Regions from separate parts of the Homo sapiens genome. Here region 1 is linked to region 2. Evidence: promoter capture Hi-C in 16 types of primary human blood cells and fetal thymus (Javierre and others, 2016). All regions are on one chromosome and are shown on one strand. Each heading gives the region's core, a stretch centred on a gene start or on the middle of the fragment in contact. The rest is flanking DNA. Distances are from core to core; before and after follow the strand shown. Region 1 has its middle 3.3 kb from the start of TRC-GCA9-3. Region 2 holds the start of ZNF786 (zinc finger protein 786).

Region 1 (3,618 bases), core at 456-2,955, 540 kb before region 2:
CCCTGCATGAAGAAGGAGGAATCTGAAGCCCTCTCTGCCTGAAATGGTCCTACGACCCCAAGTACCAGGCGAGCTCCTGTCTTCTCAGTCTGGATCTCACTGTGGTGGCCCTAAAAAGAGTCAGTGACTGTCCTTAGGAGATGGCTTCCTGCATTGAGTGTGCCTGTGGAAGTAGCCAGCTGGTGTGCAGCTCATGCTGGAGCGAACATCAACAAGGAATCAACTGCACACTGTGGCCACCCTACCCCAGAGTCCCCTCTTCCTCCTACATTAGAATTCCCCTCGGAAACTGCCCTAAGCTTCCAATAGGGAAATTACATAAATTACTCAGACCAATGTGCTAACTGTAAGGAGACTAGAAGGTTAGCAATAGTTGGAGTCCTTGTACCAGCATACAGACAATTTTACATGGCATGGGAACTCCAGGCATGACTGACCTTGCCAGGGGGTGGCTCTTCACAAAACCAGAGGTAGTAAGAGACCTAAGAGCCCAAGGAAGTAAAAGTATAGATGAAAAGAAGTCAGTTGGGCAAATTTTCCTCTCAAATTTCCCTGCCCCACCTTCCGGAAACTATGCAATATTGCCCTCAGCAAGGAAGAAGAGAGCAGATGGGCAAGCCTCTTTTGTGATGGCAAATTCCATCTTCATAAAAGAGAACTTGTCTCCTCTGGTGGGCATGATGTGGTGAAGACTGGCTCCAGGTGTCCCAATGTGGACTCTCAGGGGGTCCTAAAAGGGGCTGGGAGAGTGAAACACACACAAGGCACAGACAGAGGCAGCCCAAGGAGACCACAGGGATCAGTGAGAGTTTCCTGGGGCGGGAGTCACTACCTGCCTCATCTCACTGTGCAGAAGCCTTAGCTGGGCAAAGGAGGTGAACTCCAGCACCAGCTTCTATGGCTAAAATGGACAGTAGGTGCCCTGGAAAAAGCCAGCAGGATGGCCACACTACCCAAGAGAGAGAATTTTTCACATCAGCCCCAATGGTATACACACTACTTATGCATAATAACTACCACAAATATTTCACCTTACCAGTACGCCATGAATGAAACATCACTTCCTCAAGGAAAGTGTCCTTACCTCCTGCAATCGCTTTGATATCCCAGTAATAGTCTTATAATATCCCTGCATCTTACCATCTAGTATTTCTCATATTTTCCATTTTTAACTTCTGTGAACATTTGTACATCTTGATCTATTCCTCTAGTTTCAAGAGCCCATGTCTGTTTCAGTCACCATTGGGATAGGTTGTGTACGGACATGGGCTTCCACTCTGGATTAGATGGGAGTGATTGGAGGATTTCTTGCAGAGGAATAACATAAGCTGATTTCGTCCTCTGGCTGGCCTGAGGGCACTAGAGGACATGTATGGAAGCCGGGACACAAGTTCAGGAAGTTGTCACCATAACCTGGATGAGAGATGATTTCAGCTTTGTCTGATGGTGGAGGCAATGAGAAGTGGTCAGATTTTGGATATATTTTGAAGCAGTGTGAACAGGATTTGCTGATGATTTGAGAGCAGGGTGTGAGAGAAAGGGAAAAGTCAAGGATAATGCCAAGGTTTTCTGTCCTGAGCACCCGGCGGGATGGGGGGGCCATTCTCTGAGATGGCCATTTTCATTGCAGCAGAAATGAAATTTGAGGGGGTGGTGGAAGTCAGGAGTTCAATCTGTGATGTATTAAATTGAATCCATCTGTTAAATGGTCTAATGGAGATGTCAAAAATGAAGCTGGAGTTCGAAGGGGAGGTGTTGGCTAAAGATATAAATTTGAGGGTCATCATCCCATTAAAGCCGCAGGATGGAATGAGAGCACTGAGGAAGTGGGAGTGAAAAGAAAAGTGGTCTAGGAACTAAGACCTGGGCCCTCGAATGTTTAAAAATGGGGATGTTAAGGAGAAACCAGCAAAAGAGATTGAGGAAAAGTGGCAGAGAAGTACAAAGAAAACAACAGAAAAAGAGTGACAGCCCCAATGTCGATTGAAAAAAAAATGCTACTGAGGGCTTGAATTAAAGATGAGAATCACCCATGACACATGGTCACCAAGGACTGTGACAAGCACAGTCTCAGTGAAGTGGAGCACTTGGGTGGGTGTTCTCCTGGGAAGCCCTCCTGACCCTCCTGATGGGTGGGACCCCTGCCACATGCTCCATGGCTCCTGTATGTCTATCAAAGCACACACAGTTCACCATAATTGCTGCAAAGATGTGCCTGTAGGGTTCCCTGTATATCATGAATGGCCAGTACATATATGAATATGCTCAAATGTGTCAATAAAAAAGAGAGGATATATTAATGGAAGGAGATCCCAGGGAAAGCCAAAGGGTGGATAAAGAACACAGGATGTGCTCTAGAGAGGAGCAGGCAGGCTTTTCCTCTTAGCCTGGAGGGGATGAGGAGAAGGTGAAGATGCAGAGCAGAGGATGCTGGGGGGCCTCCATGGCCTTGGTCTTCTCAGTCAGATAGAAAACAAAGTCTTCCAAAGAGAATAAAGGAGGTAGGGTGGGAATCATTACTTGGGAAGAAGGGCAAAGTGTGAATCAGGCACTGTGGGAAATGGAGAAGAAGTGAATTAGAAAGGAATAGAATCATTGCTCATTAGAGAGAGGCACTGGTTGAGGTCAAACTGGTGTAGATTTGCAGTGGGACCATTTGCCTGGCTCTACAATTTACTCCATCAAAGACTGGCTTCCCCAGAGCAAAGGTGGGAAAGGCCAAAGGCGTGTGTATCCGCGGAAGCAGAAGGGCTCATGAGAGAGGTAGATAGACCACAGACCAAGCTCTCAAAGGAGCTGGAATCATGACTGAGAGGCCAAACATGGGATCAATAATGGGCAGGCAGATAGCTGAGCCCCAAGGTGGCCCTGCGGTCATGGGAACAGAGAGAGGTAGACAAGATTAAGGTCAAAATGAGGATAATGAAACATTTTTGGTAACAGTAAGAACATGTAAACATCAGAAAACGTGTCATAAAAGGACTTTTCTGATTCTAAGATCTTGAAAGGGAATAGTTTAAGTGATGATCAGGTTTGGCTATGAATGCTGAACACCCAAAATAACAAAGGATGGAAGCAAAACAAAAACAAGCAAACAAACCAGAAGCTTCCTTTTCTCCCACATAAAAGTCCACAGCTAGGTGGTCCAGGCATGGCTTTCCATAGGGTCAAGAACCCGATTTCTTCTTTGTGGCTGTCTGGCTGGCTTGGCTTTCATTCCAGCATGCCATCACCCACATTAGCATCTCATCGACCTCCCAGCCAGTAGGAAGGAGGAAAGACAAGCCTCTCCATATAAGAACACCCATCACTTTCACCTGCATCTCATTGACCAGCCTTATGCCTATGGCCTCACAGCTCCAAGGGGGTCTGGGAAATGCAGTTTTTCTTCTGGGAAGCCATGTGCTCAGCTGATAACCAAAAGGCAGGGTAGAAGACACTGGTGGAAAACTCTGAATCTCTGCCTCACCACACACCTTGAAGGCCGCAGTGAACGGAGTTTGTGAACATTCCTAGAGCCAGGAAGATGGAAATCTTGGGAGGCCTTAGCATTGGAAGCACATTACCTTGGAGTTTGACATTCCCGAGAATGAAAGCAGGAGGAGGTGAGGAAAATAC
Region 2 (3,639 bases), core at 663-3,162:
TGCTGGGATTACAGGCCTGAGCCACCGCGCCCGGCCAGCAGGAGAATCACTTGAACCCAGAGGCTGCAATGAGCTGAGATCGTGCCACTGCACTCCAACCTGGGCAACAAGGGCAAGACTTCGTCTAAAAAAAAAAAAAAAAAGTTCATAGCAGTATACATTAAAAAATTGTACTGTATACACTTCGGGAGGCCGAGGCGGGTGGATCACCTGAGGTTGGGAGTTCGAGACCAGCCTGACCAACATGGCGAAACCCCGTCTCTACTAAAATACAAAAAATTAGCCGGGCATGGTGGCGCGTGCCTGTAGTCCCAGCTACTCGGGAGGCTGCGGCAGGAGAATAGCTTGAACCCGGGAGGCGGAGGTTGCAGTGAGCCGACATCCCACCACTGCACTCCAGCCTGGCGACAGAGCAAGACTCTGTCTCAAAAAAAAAAAAAAAAAAAAAAAAAAAAAAGCCAGGCGCGGTGGCTCACGCCTGTAATCCCAACACTTGGGGAGGCCGAGGCAGGTAGATCACAAGGTCAGGAGTTTGAGGCCAGCCTGACCAACATGGTGAAACCTCGTCTCTACTAAAAATACAAAAATTAGCCGGGCGTGGTGGCAAATGCCTGTAATCCCAGCTACTCGGGAGGCTGAGGCAGGAGAATTGCTTGAATCCAGGAGACAGAGGTTGCAGTGAGCCGAGATTGCGCCACAGCACTCCAGCCTGGGTGACAAGAGTGAGACTTTGTCTCCAAAAAAAAAAAATTGTACTGTATAACAGTTGTAAAAATAAAAAACGTTAAACAGTAAGGTGCATGTACATTTCACGATTCTGTGGCAAACACAGATGCGTATATGCTCCTCAGCCTACGCAGGGACTATTTTATTTCTTATGCACATCCTCTCCAAACTACACACTTTTCCTTTGCTACTTCAGCCTGACACCTAAGACATGACTAAGACAGAATGCGAGGTTGATTTTCTGGAGACAATCGCCACCCCCTTCCTCGCCCTCTCTCCTTTCTGTCTCTTCCTGGTTTCCCCACCTCTCCCCTGTTCTTGCGTTCTCGTGTTTCTCACGCCCTGTGTCATGGCCTCCTCCGTCTTCTCCTCCTACTCTGTCTCTGTCTCCTGCCGGGGCCCGGGGTGCCCGACCGCAGCCTTGGGCCACCCTGAGTCCCTGCAGGCGGCCCTGAGGCCGGGGTGGCTTCCGCATGGGGTCTCTGCCCAAGGCCGTTCTCTGCTAAGGAAGGAGCGTGGCCGCCCGGGGAGCCCGGAGGGCTCTAGACCCACGGCGACCGGACCTGGTGGGCGGACCCCGCCTCCGCGTCCCCGGCGGGACAAGCATGGGGCCCCCACGGCCTCCGCGCCCCCGGCGGGACGGATGCCCCGGGCCACCGCGGGCAGCGCGCGCCCCCCACCCACTTTCCGGCCTCGCTGGATTCCCGGGACCCCCTCACAGACGAAGCCTGTCTCGGGGGCGGCTTTGGGAGGAACCGCACCGGAGGTTCCCCTCTCGCTGCCTCTCAGTCTGGGTTTCTGTGGAGCGCGTCTCCCTGTCCCTGTCCCTGATCTCTCCCTGTCCCTGTCCCTGATCTCTCCATGTCCTGCCCCTCCGTTTCCCCTCCGGCCAGCTCCTCAGCTTGTCTCTGACCGCTTCCCTCCCCAGATCCCGGGAATCCGAGGGTCCCTCAAAGACCGGCGTGCTGCGGCCTGCTCTGAGGGCGCCCGGGCCCCTGGGTCCCTCCTCTGAGGACCGACGCTCAGGCAGCGCCGCTTCTTCCTCCCGCAGGAGGCGCTGTAGGACTGAGCGGCAGCCGCGGCCGGGCGCCGGGTCCCAGCATGCACCGCGCCCGGCCGGCGCTGCGTTTGGGGGCCACCCGGGCTGTGCGTGGGAGTCGGGTTGGGGCGGAGCGGAGGGGAGTCAGTGCGCAGCAGGGCAGGTTCCTGCGGAGCCGCCGGAGACGGTCGGGTTTGCCAGGGCCGGGCGGGACCGCGGGGACCATGGCGGAGCCGCCTCGGGTAAGCGGGCTAGCCTGTTTGGACGCCCGGTTTCGGGGTCGTGGTGGGTCCTCGGGTTCCGGGCTCGCCCGTGTCCTGGGGTCCCCGTGAGTGCGCGCGGTGCACGGGTAGGACGGAGTCTGCAGGCTGCTTCTGCTGGGGATGTGGATTCCGGGCCCTGCGGTGAGCAGGTGGCCTCCGCTCCCGCGGCTTGTCCGTGGCCAAACCCCTGGACAAAGCCGAGCGTGGACCGAGGCCGACCTAGGAGCGGGGCGGAGCCTGGGCGAGGATGCCGGGCGGACGGGGAGCGGACGGTGGAAAGGATAGAAAGGTTTGGGGCCAGAGGTGGATGTTACAGGTCAACCAGTTTTACATCATAGTCACCGAAATCAGAACAACTGTTCCAAAAAGTTTAAGATTCCGAATGGTTGAAATGGTGTTTGGCGGGGGCTTCAATGTCAGAATTTATTGTCTAGCGTGATTTGGGTTGAGTGTAAGATGATACGTTGGGAAGAGTAGAAGAGGATACAAAAAATTAAGTTAGTGGTTTCTTAAAATCGAGGTTTAGAGGGTATTTTTATCTTGTAAACTTTAATGTTGAGGATTTTTGCTGATTATTAAATGAATTAGGCCGGGCGCGGTGGCTCACGCCTGTAATCCCAGCACTTTGGGAGGCCGAGGCGGGTGGATCACGTGAGGTCGGGAGTTCGAGACCAGCCTGGCCAACATGGTGAAACCCCAACTCTACTAAAAATACAAAAAATTAGCCTGGCATGATGGCGGGCGCCTGTAATCCCAGCTACTCGGGAGGCTCAGGCAGGAGAATTGTTTGAACCCGGGAGACGGAGGTTGCAGTGAGCCGAGACTGCACCATTGCACTCCAGCCTGGGCAACAAGAGCGAAACTCCGTCTCCAAAAATATATACATACCTATATATATGGGGAAAGGATATAAACAGCCAAATCACAGACCTGAAAATAAATTATTAATGAGTAAAAGAATGGATTTTAAAACTTGTGACATTCAGGCCAGGCGCCGTGGTTTACGCCTGTAATCCCAGCACTTTGAGAGGCCGAGGTGGGCAGATCACTTGACGTCAGGAGTTCAAGACCAGCCTGGCCAACATGGCGAAAAACTGTCTCTACTAAAAAATACGAAAATTAGCTGAGTGTGGTGGCGGACGCCTGTAATCCCAGCTCCTCGGGAGGCTGAGGTAGGGAGAATTGCTTGAACTCGGGAGGTGGAGGTTGCAGCGAACTGAGATGGCGCCACTGCACTCCAGCCTGGGCGACAGAGCGAGACTCTATCTCAAAAACAAACAAACTTGTGACATTCAGACGGTGGAACACTATACAAAATTAAAATAAATTAGCTACATATATGATCAACAGGGCCGGGCGTGGTGGCTCACGCCTCTAATCCCAGCACTTTGGGAGGCCAAGGCGGGCGGATCACGAGATCAGGAGATCGAGACCATCCTAGCTAACACGGTGAAACCCCGTCTCTACTAAAAATACAAAAACAAAAATTAGCTGGGCGTGTGGGCGGGAGCCTGTAGTCCCAGCTGCTCGGGAGGCTGAGGCGGGAGAACCCGGGAGGCGGAGCTTGCAGCGAGCCGAGATCGCGCCACTGCACTCCAGCCTGGGCGACAG

What was found. The method cuts DNA at HindIII sites, captures the fragments that hold promoters and counts their contacts. A CHiCAGO score of 5 or more calls a contact.
Region 1: a contact is called between a fragment that was not itself captured here and the fragment with the promoter of ZNF786 in region 2, in 1 of 17 cell types (neutrophils). The highest score is 5.6, in neutrophils.

What each region holds. Positions count from the first base shown.
Region 1 is chr7:149,630,603-149,634,220 of GRCh38, reverse strand. No RefSeq gene overlaps it. Among named protein-coding and RNA genes, the nearest start is that of TRC-GCA9-3, 3.3 kb to the left of the region's middle. The HindIII fragment of the contact is 2,807 bases long and covers 302-3,108 here.
Region 2 is chr7:149,088,991-149,092,629 of GRCh38, reverse strand. ZNF786 (zinc finger protein 786) reads left to right here and starts at 1,912. Exons shown (of 4, transcript NM_152411.4): 1 at 1,912-2,007. The coding sequence starts at 1,990. RefSeq lists silencers at 1,061-1,550, 1,671-1,970. The HindIII fragment of the contact is 38,912 bases long and covers 1-3,639 here.